Linked DNA regions of Homo sapiens: region 2 is linked to region 1. Evidence: promoter capture Hi-C in 16 types of primary human blood cells and fetal thymus (Javierre and others, 2016). All regions are on one chromosome and are shown on one strand. Each heading gives the region's core, a stretch centred on a gene start or on the middle of the fragment in contact. The rest is flanking DNA. Distances are from core to core; before and after follow the strand shown.

Evidence for each region. The method cuts DNA at HindIII sites, captures the fragments that hold promoters and counts their contacts. A CHiCAGO score of 5 or more calls a contact.
Region 2: a contact is called between the fragment with the promoter of ZNF155 here and the fragment with the promoter of ZNF180 in region 1, in 13 of 17 cell types (total CD8 T cells, total B cells, neutrophils and 10 more). The highest score is 13.2, in total CD8 T cells.

The regions. Positions count from the first base shown.
Region 1 is chr19:44,497,086-44,503,254 of GRCh38, forward strand. ZNF180 (zinc finger protein 180) reads right to left here and starts at 3,437. Exons shown (of 5, transcript NM_001278509.3): 1 at 3,190-3,437; 2 at 199-292. The coding sequence starts at 249. RefSeq lists enhancers at 2,707-3,205, 3,193-3,242, 3,206-3,706, 3,253-3,312, 3,323-3,532 and 2 more. The HindIII fragment of the contact is 10,008 bases long and covers 1-5,009 here.
Region 2 is chr19:43,980,850-43,987,018 of GRCh38, forward strand. It overlaps ZNF155 (zinc finger protein 155), which reads left to right and starts at 3,339. Exons shown (of 5, transcript NM_198089.3): 1 at 3,339-3,396. It also overlaps a transcript of ZNF221 not described here. RefSeq lists a silencer at 3,036-3,235. The HindIII fragment of the contact is 8,717 bases long and covers 1-6,169 here.

The DNA of each region.
Region 1 (6,169 bases), core at 2,187-4,686:
AGAAAGAGTTATCTGGGCTAAAAAGGTGAGGCAACTAGCAGGGAGATTCATAAAATATATAGTAAGTGTTAGAAGCCTGATGGCCATGAGGGCCTCAAACCCCCTAAAAGGCTGCAAAGAGAGTCAGGGAGGAGCCACAGCCTCCCAAGCTGAGAGGGTCAGGCTGCAGACAGACCCAAGCTCTGGGTCTCCACTCACCTGTGCACAGACCTTCGGGGGCTCTGGGGGCTTCTCATCCTGCTCTTCCATGCTCTCCTCCAGGCACAGCAGGGTGCTGAGGTCCTGAGCTGCACTGAGAGAAGCCCCAAGTACAGCATGAAGATGTAGGTCTGCCGGAACCGCTGGGCCCCCCACCCCCATTAGCCCCTGCTCCCAGGATGCAGGATGCATTCCCATAGCAAATGCACTTCTGGAGGTTCCTGCCAGCTTCCTGCCCAAATACCTGTGTATGTACTGAGAGTCCCTCAGTCCCTCTCCCAGGTCAAGTTTCTGCAGCTCCAACCTGGTTCCTCCACCATCTTGGGCCCCTGGACCATCTACCTGTAAGCCCAGCTTGTGCCCAACATGGCCTTCTGCCCACCACCAAAGTCTGCAGCACCAGTCCATCCCTCTCCTATTCACTGGGCCCTGGGATCCCCACAAATATCAGGCATATTGAGGACCCCCTGGTGTTCACCCCATCCTACCCCTACCAACCTCAATCTACAGCCCCAAACCAGCACTTCTTCCTAGGGCCAGAATCACACTCACTGCCTAACTGCATGAAGCTGGTGACACAGCTCCACTGCTCCCAGGAACTGATTCAACAACTAAGACTGATCCTACCGTTCCATCAGCCAGACCTGTCCCTCCAGCAACTCAGCACAGAGGGCCACCCACATCCTGCTCAAATAGCCAAGCATTTATGCACAGAGCTCAGCTATACCCACATCCTGTTCCCTCCACACTTCTGGGGTCCACTGGCTCCTACTCGAACAGCACCAGCCAGATTCCCACCCTAACACCCTCCCAGGCCCTGAATTTGTAGCTCTAAACCAGTCCCTCCACCAACTTGGGTATACTCAGGCCTGAAACTACAACAAGGCCTGCATAGGGCTGGGGGCCTCCAACAGACACCAGCACAAGCCAGACAAAAGCAGCCCTACCCAGGCTCTAAATACATGTCTCAGAAGCTCAGGTGCCTCTGTACCAACTAGGTGTTTTGGGATCCAAGACTAGAGGGCAAATCCTACCCTAGGCACCCCACCCTCTGCACTCCATCTCTCCCACTTACTCTCTCCCCTGCTCCCACCATATTCTCACGCAGCATAGCGTAGGTTCACAATGCAGCTGTTTCCTGAAATTGCACCCAAACTGTTTCCTCCACCTTACTCCACAGCCCCCTGCTTGAGCCACACCTGCCCAGATTCTGACCAAACATCTTTCGGGGGCACCTGTGGCTCAGGAAGATCCTGTCTTTCCACCAAACTGGGCACCATCAGGCTGTGATCAGGGTTCCAATCACACAAAGACCCCAGCACCCTCTGTCTAAAACTCATCTCCGGCCTCCTGTTTCCCAACCAAACACCGGTGTGTGTGCACAAGGGGTGCCTGACACAGTCCCGCCCCTCTGCAGCTGCTCCCCCCCACACACCTGGGCATCCTCAGGCAGAATCAGGGTCCTAGGACTGCCCATGCCTCCCCAATCTGCCCAAATGCCAGCACACGTGCAGAGTGTTGCTGGAGCAGCCCCGTGCCTCCTAAGACCAGATCCAAACTGGAGCCCCCAGGCCTCTATTCCACAGCCACTGCACACGGGCCACCCACCTAGACTCCCTCCTACTGATACAGCCACAGAGCAGGTTCGTGCTCACAATCTGCATCCAGGACCTGGCTCCTCTGCCCGTCTGGGGGCACACCATGCTCCTGAGTCAACAATCTACATCCCTCACCCTGTGTCTCAACCTGCCTGGGACATCTCAGGTACCCACAGCCTCTGTGTAGGTTCTGGGGTCAACTGCCCCACTATTTGCCCGCAGCCAGGACACTACAACAACTAAACAGTAGCTTGAGCATACAGCTCCATAATCAGCCCCAGGACTTGGGCACTCGCCAGCGTGGGGGTTCTCGAGCCTACGATACAGCAGCTCAATGGGAACTGGGCCCTTTGTCCTTCTCTTGCCCAATCATGACGGCCTGGGTGTTGTGCAGTCAGCTCTTCCCGGGACCAAATCTGCAGCACAGGCTCTGTCCCTCTACTAACCTGCACATTCTCACGCCTGCAAATAGCGTACCCAAGTAAAGGTCTCAGCAACACCTGCTTCATAACGATGCTGGCAACATACTGCTTCCTCCCCAGCTACCAATTTGATGGCAGCTGTTGCAGCTCTGTCCTTCCTGGACTTAAATTCTGTATCTCCAACCCGGAGTCTCTGCCCATCTTGAATGCTCTAGAGCTCTGCACTATCCTACATAGGTCCCTACTATCAGTTCAAGTTTCTGTTTTCCATTCAGACACCCCCAGGACGTGCAGGGGGCCCTCTGCCCAGAACCTGTTTCTAGGCCCTGATACCCTCCTTCAGCCTGGGAGTTTGCTGCCCATGGGTAATTCCCACCAAGGGTTCACTAGCAACACTGCCTCTTCTGGCACAAGAATCTGCAACTCCAATCTGGTCTCTCCACCAACCACAGCGCCCCCAGACCTTGGAGAAGCGCGTTGTCTGCTCTAGGGGCCCAGAGCCACCTGCTCGGAATCTTACCTACAACCTTTTGCTTCCTACCCAAATACCTGATCAAGAGTAAAGGGACAGTGGCACAGCCCCTCCTCTCCAGAAACCACAATCTGCAATGGAGCACTCCATCAACCCGGACATCCTCAGGCCTCCACTAAATAAGCCCGGCATTGGAGGAGGGGAGTTCTCAAGATGTCCCCTTACATCAATGCATGTGCCCTGTGTTCCAGCAACCTGGGCATCCTCAGGCCCCAGACAAGAGCACCACCTGACCAAGCACCCGCGCATGCACGCAGAGGACAGTCGCGGAATATACAGCTGTATCAGTAACTCCATCAACCCCGGTGACCCGAGGCTAAAGCGCCACCCGCACAGATACCAGGTCTCCCCGCTACACTCACCACCGCTTCCAGCTTCCCGCGTAGACCCTGCGCATGCGCGCATCGGACACCAAGCGCTGCCCCACGCCCCTACCAACCTGGGCGTCCGCTGGCCCGCAGCCCAGGCTGGGCCTGTCACCGCCTCAGTGCCTAGCACGGCTCTGCGGCAGGACGAACTCGGGTTAGGCAACCCCCTGCCCCGATTCTGCAACACGGCCGACTCGGGTTAAGCTAGTTCGGTCCCCTCTCCTAGTCAGCATCCGCAAGGCCGCTGGGGGTTAAGTCTGAAGGGCCGAGCTGCTCGGCGACAGCAAGCGTCCGCGCGCGGGACAATGGCTGCTCTTGTGGCCGAACCCGGAAGTGCACTTGGGCTCGGAGAGCCAGAACTACAATTCCCAGAAGCCTCCGCGGCGCGGACGGTCAGTAGGCGGGGTTCCGGCTTCTCCAAGGAAGTGGGGCGGGGGACCGGGCCAGAAGCTAAGAGGGCGTCCTCGTCCGGGGCCCGGGGGGGCGCCACACCTGTGCATGTGCAGGTCTAGGGGGAGCACTAAGACCAGCCGCGGCGCCGGGAGGCCGAGGCCAGTGCAGCGACGCATGGGGAGTCGCTCTGGCGTGACGTCAGAATCCAATAGAAATGGCGGGGACCCTTTCTGGGTGCCCCCTGCCTGTCAGACGCTGCGCGCGACCCCTTGTCTCCTCTAGTCCTAGGGGAAACCTGTGAGACAGTTGCGACATCCCCATTTTACAGTGGAGGGAGCGTCTACCGAACCCTTCAGGAATCTATGTTTTTACATTTAATAATACTAAAATATAATCATTTTATTTTTAAATTTTGAGTTCTTTCTCTGCCTATAAGGCCTGAAGGATCTGTTCCCCCCACCTCTCCCCTTTTCTCTGTTTTTGTTTTGTTTTGTTTTGTTGTTTTGAGACGGAATTTCGCTCTTGTCGCCCAGGCTGGAGGGCAATAGCGCGATCTCGGCTCACTGCAACCTCCACCTCCCGGATTCAAGCGATTCTCCTGCCTCAGCCTCCTGAATAGCTGGGATTACAGGCGCCAGCCACCACGCCCGGCTAATTTTTGTATTTTTAGTAGAGACGGGGTTTCACCACGTTGGCCAGGTTAGTCTCCAACTCCTGACCTCAGGTGATCCGCCCTCGGCCTCCCAAAGTGCTGGGATTACAGGCGTAGTCCCCTTTTCTCTTTGCCCTCATTTCTTGCCCATTTGCTTGGCACATTTTCCCCATTCTCCAACAGATCCAGCAGACTCCAGCCCCTGGTCGTTTGCAGGTGCTCTTTGCACTCCCTAGCAGCCTCTCCTGAGGGATTCATTTGGCTCTCACCGTCTGGTAATTAGGGGAATATCATCTTCTCATGAGGCATTGCCCCACCACCCGTTGTGAACTTGCAAGCAAACGCTTCCCTCCCCACATGCTCTGTGCCTCCCCCTTCATCTTTTATTTTTTTCTCTAAAGAACTTTTCACTATCTAGCACACTATATATTTTAATTATTTATTTGGTCTACTGTCCGACCTACCACTACGATGTCAATTCCATAAGGAAAAGCATTTTATCGATGTTGATCACTGCTGCATCCCCAACACCTAAAAAAAAAAAAAAGAGAGAGACCTGGCACATAATAGATGCTCAATAAATATTCGTTGGCTAAATAAAGGTTCCTGTCTCTGTATTAAACACTTTAATATTTCATTACCAAGCCCAATCAGCCTATGAGGTAGTTGTGTTAATTTTCATCCTACCAGGGAGGTAGCTGAAAATTGGAGCCCTGCTGTATGAAAATACATAATTTTTTAGTTTTTAAAATGCTTGTCAAAGCACTCCTGTAGTTTTCTTCACGTAAATTCTGACCTTTAAAAACAATGAATTATTACTATTTGAAATGTAATCTCTATCCCCAAAGCTTCTTATTATTGGTTATTGTGGTTGATCTTTTAAAAAATACTTATTTTGTATCTGGTTAACCTACTGCAATGTTATTAATTCTTACAATACTCCAGTTGACTCTCTTGGCTTTTCTATTGAGACAGTTATCTACAATTTCATCTTTTCCTTACCAGTATTTTAAATTAGACATTCTCTTTCATGTTGGATTATATTGGCTACCATTTCCAAAAAAGTATTACTAAAAGAGGCATTCTTGTTTGTGTTCTTTTAATGGACATATCTCTGAAGTTTGAGGGTTAAATGTGACATCGGTTTCTACATTGAAGTAAGTAGCTTATTTTTTTAACCTTTTATTTTGTAAATTTCAAAACAAAAGTAGGGACTCAATTAATGACTCCCCAAGACCTATGTCATCCAACTTAAATATTTTCACTCAGTCTTGTTTCATCTGTATTTCCACCTATGTTGTGCATTTGAGACCAAGATGTTGAACTCTAGAGTCCATGCTCTTAACTTTTACATTATGTTGCCGCTTGTCTACACATCAGTATCTTTCCTCTACGTGCAAGCAATACTAAGTTTGCAAACAAAACAGAAAAAGTTCGTATGTATTCACAAAAAAGCAAAAAAAAAAAGCCTTATAAGTAAATTTAGTAAGATAAATATGTCATCTGAAGAAACCCTCAAAACCTTACTGAGAGAGAAAAATGGACAAATAGAAATGCTGTGTTGCTAGCTGTGTGTTGTAAAGATGTAAAATCTTGCAGATTGATCTGCAAATACAAATATGACAAAATCAGAATGGGATGCTTTGAGTGTTAGGTCGTCTTCCTTTTTTCACTTCATTTATTTTTCTGCTAATTGTTTAAGATATTCAGAAAATAGGCCAGGCGCAGTGGCTCACACCTGTAATCCTAGTACTTTGGGAGGCTAAGGCAGGCCAATCATGAGGTCAAGAGTTCAAGACCAGTCTGGCCAACATGGCAAAACTCTGTGTCTACTTAAAAAATACAAAAATTAGACAGGCATGGTGATGCACGCCTGTAATCCCAGCTACTCAGGAGTCTGAGGCAGAAGAATCGCTTGAACCTGGGAGGCAGAGGCTGCAATGAGCCAAGATCACGTTGCTACACTCCATCCTGGGCAACAGAGCAAGACTCCATCTCAAAAAAAA
Region 2 (6,169 bases), core at 2,089-4,588, 520 kb before region 1:
AGATAAGTCTGTGCAATGTGTCCCAGCTGCTATGTAAGTTTCTCTGCCATCAGGACCCTATGACCCAGAAAAGCCAAAAGTGATTAAAATGTTAATGAAAGATAGTGATGGTTGAGCCTTTGGCTGGCCCTAGTTAGTAAATCAGCACTTTACAAGGCTGAGGTGGGAGAATCGCTTGAGCCCAGGACTTCAAGACAAGCCTTGGCAACATAGCAAGACCTTGTTCTAAAAAAAAAAATTGAGGCGAACAGACCAAAAACTCAACATAAAAATGGGTAATAGATTTGAACAATTTACAAAAAGAAAAATAATATTGACACAGGAAATATGCAAAAATGTTCTATGTTATTTAAAAAACAAGAAATATAAATTAAAACTAAATTTAAATACACTTCTTACCATTTGATTGGCAAAACTTTAAAAATGTTGTAATAACACATTTTGTTAGCTAGTTTCAAGGCAAGAGTATATTTATACATTACTTCTGCAAATGGAAATGGTACCAAAAAATTAAGGCAACTTGACAATATGCAACAAAATTTCTATTAATATCTTCACTTTTCAATCCTGCTTTCTGGGATGTACTCTTCTGATGTATCTTCAACAGGGATAATATACAAATGTACAAGTGTATTTATAACAGCATCATTTGTAATAATAAAATATTGGAAGTCACTGAAATGTCCATAAATTGCAGCACTGTTATATAAACCACTCAATGGAATTTATGCAGTTTTAAAAATAAATTACTCCATATGACATGATTTCCAAGATGTTATTATGTGAATATAGAAGAATTAGAAGTGTACTATCCTAACATTTAAGTAAAAAGGAAAAATAAGAAACACATCTATTCTGTTAAAAAAAAGTGGTAATGAAAATAATAAAATTAGTTACATAAAGGTGTTAGGTGGCAACACTGTGGAATTGGTTTAGGGGTAGGAAGGAGGGGAGTGGCACTTCTCTGAGAATAATATGTGGTAGAGCATTGACTCATGGGAACATGTTGATGACTGACATACCCAATAATATAAAATCAAGAATGAGATTTCTTTGTAGATAAACTAGGAAAGTGAAAATCATAGAATAACAAATTAACCTAAATGTATTTCAAATCAATAACATAAACAGTCTAAAGGTGACAGCAAGAAGTAATTTAAGCAACTTATTAAACAGTACAGTGTTTGACTATATATCCTCAGTCTAAAGACAAAAAGAACTATAAAAAATGTTGAACTCTACTTTTGCATTGTTTTTTACAATGATATGAATTAGTAACTCTGACACTGCATGATGCGTATGCAATGGTCTTAATGTTTGTGGCCCACCAAAATCCATATATTGTAATTTTTACCCTCAATGTGATGGTAATAGGAGGTGGGGCCTTTGGAGGGTGATTAGGTCACGGGATGAATACCCTTATAAAAAATGCCAGAAGGAGCTTGTTTGTCACTTCAACCAAATGAAGACACAGCAATATGGTGCTAACTATGAACAAGAAAGTGGCCAACTACCTGACACAAAATCTGCCAGTGCTTTGATCTTGGATCCCAGTTTCCAGATCTGTGAAGAATAGATTTCTGTTGCTTAAAAGCCGGCCGGGCGTGGTCGCTCACGCCTGTAATCCCAGCACTTTGGGAGGCCGAGGTGGGCGGATCACAAGGTCAGATCGAGACCATCCTGGCTAACACGGTGAAACCTCTTCTCTACCAAAAATACAAAAAAATTAGCCGGGCATGGTGGCGAGCACCTGTAGTCCCAGCTACTCGGGAGGCTGAGACAGAAGAATGGCATGAACCTGGGAGGCAGAGCTTGCAGTGAGCCGAGATCGCGCCACTGCACTCTAGCCTGGGCGACAGAGCAAGACTCCGTCTCAAAAATAAAATAAAATAAAATAAAATAAAATAAAATAAAATAAAATAAAATAAAATAAAAGCCAGGCAGGCTATGATATTTTGTGACTAAAAAATATTGGTACTGAGAGGTGGGCTTGCTGCTGCAACAAATACCTAAAAATGTAGCAGTCTTTGGAACTATGTAATGGATAGAGTCTAGAAGAGTTTTTACATGTATGCTAGGAAAAGCCTACATTGCCATGAATGGACTGATAAGGACAATTCTGGTTAGCGCTCAGAAATAGAGAATAAGAACTGTAGAGAAAACATCAATCTTGTTAGAGCATACCTAGGTAGTCATGATCAGAATGTTGGTAGAAATATGGACAGTAAAGGCCATTCTGAAGACCTCAGTCAGAAATGTTGAACATGTTATTGGAAGAGAAGAGAGCTTCTTGTTATAAAGGGACAAAGAATTTGGCTGAATTATATTCAGGTGCTAGTGTTTTATGGAAGGTAGAATTTGTGAATGATATAATTGTTTATCTGAATTAATTTCTAATCAAAGTGTTGAAGTTGCTTGAATCATCTTGACTACCCGTAGTGAAAGGCACGAAGTGAGGAATGACTGAAATAATTATTAATTAAAAGGGAAACAGAACTAAAATTTTTAAAAGTTTACAGCCTATCTACTTTGGAAAAAAAAAAAAACAGGAAACCTGAAGAATACAAGGGTATGGTTAAGCAACTAACTAATTCATGAATTTAGTATGGATTGGCCATGTCAACTGAAGCCAGGACCTATTGTCCAAGACAATGGAAGAATGACCCCAAAGGCATTTCACAGATTATGGCAGCTTCTCCTCCCATCACAGGCCCAGAGTGCAAGGACCTGGGGGACAGAAAGGGCCTTTGATGCCAGATATACCCTAATATATTAGGCACAGTTTCCTGCCTACTACGATTGAGCGTGTCAATAAATTTTTATCTCTTGGGAGGGCAGAACAGAGCAAGGATACAGCTGTAACTGGTTTAGAAATAGCAGTCACTCAATTTTCAGAGAAGTGTTCCTCATACTGTGGTTGGCACAGTCACTTTATCTAAAGAAAACCATGAAAAGTATTCTTTTTTAGTTTAGAAAAATTGATATAGAACATGAGACTCCATTTTTTTAAAATAAAAATATAGGTTGATAGGCCAGAATTCACAGGTCCACCTGCCTGAGCCAAAATTCTCACGCCTCCACAGAGCAAATGGACTCCATTTCCCAAGATACCAGCGAAACGCCTGCGGGAGTCTAATTGCCCGGTCGATGCGCAGGAAATTTGGCTCCCGCAGGCGTTTCGCGAGTAGCTTGGGAGGCGTGGGAATTTTGGCCCAGGCAGGAGGACCTGTGAATTCTGGGAAGTGGAGTCCATTTGCTCTGTGGAGTCGTGGGAACTTTGGCTCAGGCAGGCGGATTCGGGGGATTCTGGGAAGTGTAGTCCAGACGCCTGTGGCATCATCGACACTTCCGGTCTCCGAGCAGGACACTGCTACTTAACAAGGTGGTTTGAGCCAAGTATGTGTCTTGCGGGTCTTTGCGAAAGTGAACCAGTTATTAGGGGCGCCTAACGACCTGGGGGGTCAACTAAGGGGGTAAGAAGCCCTGGAGAAGACCTGAGGTTTGGAGATGCGAGGGGTGGGAGGGAAGTTTCGTTGCCGTCGATGGAGCCTTCTGGCGTTGGGGGCTGTACTCAGGTCCACCGGAGGAGTCGTCGGGGGTTCGGGGGGGGCGGGGAAGAACTCTGTCTAGTCTTGTGTGCCTGTTTAGAGGGTTTTCCAGGTGTTTGACCTCGTTCAGTCCGCCTCCCTCCACTCTTAAGTGTGCGACCTCTTTCTCGCGATATAACGTGGGGTGTTACTTAATCTCCCTGTACCTCCCATTGCCGTTTTTTAAATGAGGATTTCAGGACCATCCTGATAGAATTGTTTTAGGAGTTGAAAGTTGTGGTATAAAACAAAGACTTAACAGCTCCTGTCACTTGGTGTCCTGTTAATTTCCCGCGAAGTGGTCAGGTGCCCGGGTGGGGTCAGAGCTCCAGCTGCTCCGGCCCTTCTCTTGGAGCCCGGCAGGGCTCTGGATGATCCCGGACGCCTCTGACCTCTTTTTAGGAAGGCGTGGGTTGCATCCACGTTTCACGAAGGGAGAGGAGCATTTAACTTGTATCCGGGACGGCGACGCAGAGTGTTTGACAGCTTTCTCCTTCCCCAGCCTGACTTTTCTAAAAGAGCTGCAGGGAGGGACTTGGCTACTGAGGACAAAGCTGTCTACACGAGTGGTCTTTGGCTTTTCTCTTTTTAAAAAAAAGTTATTTATTTTGTTAGTCTGTTTTTATTATTGTTATTATTTGAGAATGAGGTTTGCTCTGTCTCCCAGGCTGGAGTGCAGCAGTGGCGCGATCTTGGCTCACTGCAACCTCCGCCTCCTGGGTTCAAGCGATTCTCTGTCCTCAGCTCCGGAGTAGCTGGGATTACAGGCATGCGTCACCATGCCCGGCTAATTTTTGTATTTTTAGTAGAGACGGGGTTTCACCATGTTGGCCAGGCTGGTCTCGAACCTGTGGTCCTAAGTGATCCGCCTGCCTCGGCCTCCCAAAGTGCTGGAATTACAGGTGTGAGCCACCGCGCCGGGCCGGTTTTTTCTTTTACAGAGATGTTCACCTCAACCAAGAGTGTATAGGATGTGTCCTTGGGCATGGGTGTTGATAATAATTAAACCTTAATTGGTAACTTAATTCTAAGGGCTTTATGGAAATAAATACATTTACGCCACACCATGGCTCTGTGGAAAGGTATTGCTCTTTTTCTTTTTTTTTTTTTTTTTTTTTTCCTGAGACGGAGTCTCGCTCTGTCGCCCAGGCTAGAGTGCAGTGGCGCGATCTGGGCTCAGTGCAATAGGCCGCCTCCCAGGTTCAGGCGATTCTCCTGCTTCAGCCTCCTAAGTAGCTGGGATTACAGGTGCGCACCACCACGCCCAGCTAATTTTTGTATTTTTAGTAAAGATGGGGTTTCACCGTTTTGGTCAGGCTGGTCTGAAACTCCTGACCTCGTGATCCGACCGCCTTGGCCTCCGAAAATGCTGGGATTACAGGCGTGAGCCACCGCGCCCGGTCGCTCTTTTCCATTTTAAATATGGGAGTGAGACACCTGGTGCTTAGTTCCCAGTAGAATGAGGTACAGCTGGAGCTGGAACCTAGGCAGTTTGGGTCAGAGCCTGAGTTGATCATCCCTTGGATACATTTTCATTGAGGTAGAGGAACTAGCTGGAATCAGGTGGGGAAAGAGAGTTAGGACTTGATTGAAGGGACCTTGAGAGCAAGGCTCATAGACTTGGACTTCTGTAGGAGTCTTTTAAAAATTTGTCAACATCCTGTTTCACTTTTTATAAGGATTTTGTATTGTGGAACCATATCATTGTGGAGCATTTTAAAATTAGATTAATAGGAGGAGAAAACATGTTTTAAATTACCCATGAATCCAAGATGTGAAGGTGCTAACTGTCTGATACAAGAGATGGAACTTCCAGTTCTCCTCCGTTTCTTTTTAGTCTTTCTCTGTGTCTATTGTATATTTATTTATAAGCATTTAAAAAAATTGTTATAATATCTTAATGTGTTTTCCCATATTTCTTTAACTATGGAAATTTTTAAATACTGCTAATAGAGAATAAACTAGTAAACTGCCATATTATGTCATGCTCATCCAATATTATTCCCATTTGTGTTTTTTTTTTTTTTTTTTTAGACGGAGTCTCGCTCTGTCACCTAGGCTGGAGTGCAGTGGTGCGATCTCGGCTCACTGTGAGCTCCGCCTCCCGGGTTCACACCATTCTCCTGCCCCAGCCTCCTGAGTAGCTGGGACTACAGGTGCCGGCCACCATGCCCGGCTATTTTTTTGTATATTTAGTAGAGACGAGGTTTCACTGTGTTAGCCAGGATGGTCTCGATCTCCTGACCTTGTGATCCGCCCACCTCGGCCTCCCAAAGTGCTGAGATTACAGGTGTGAGCCACGGCGCCCAGCCCCCATTGTTATCATCCTTATGACTATTTCCTGATAGTTGAAAACCTTTCATTTTTATATCATTTCAAAGCTGTAGAAGAGTTGCAAAAATAGTATAAGGAATTCTCATATACTCTTTACCCAAATTTGCCGATTGTTTACATTTTTCCTGTTTGCTTTGTTGGTGGCCATCAGCCAAATACTACCAGGAACATATCTGTAACCAGAGACGATTGTAGATTTCTGCAGCAAGGAAGCCCACATTCCATGGTGATCATGGGGTGACTTGGTA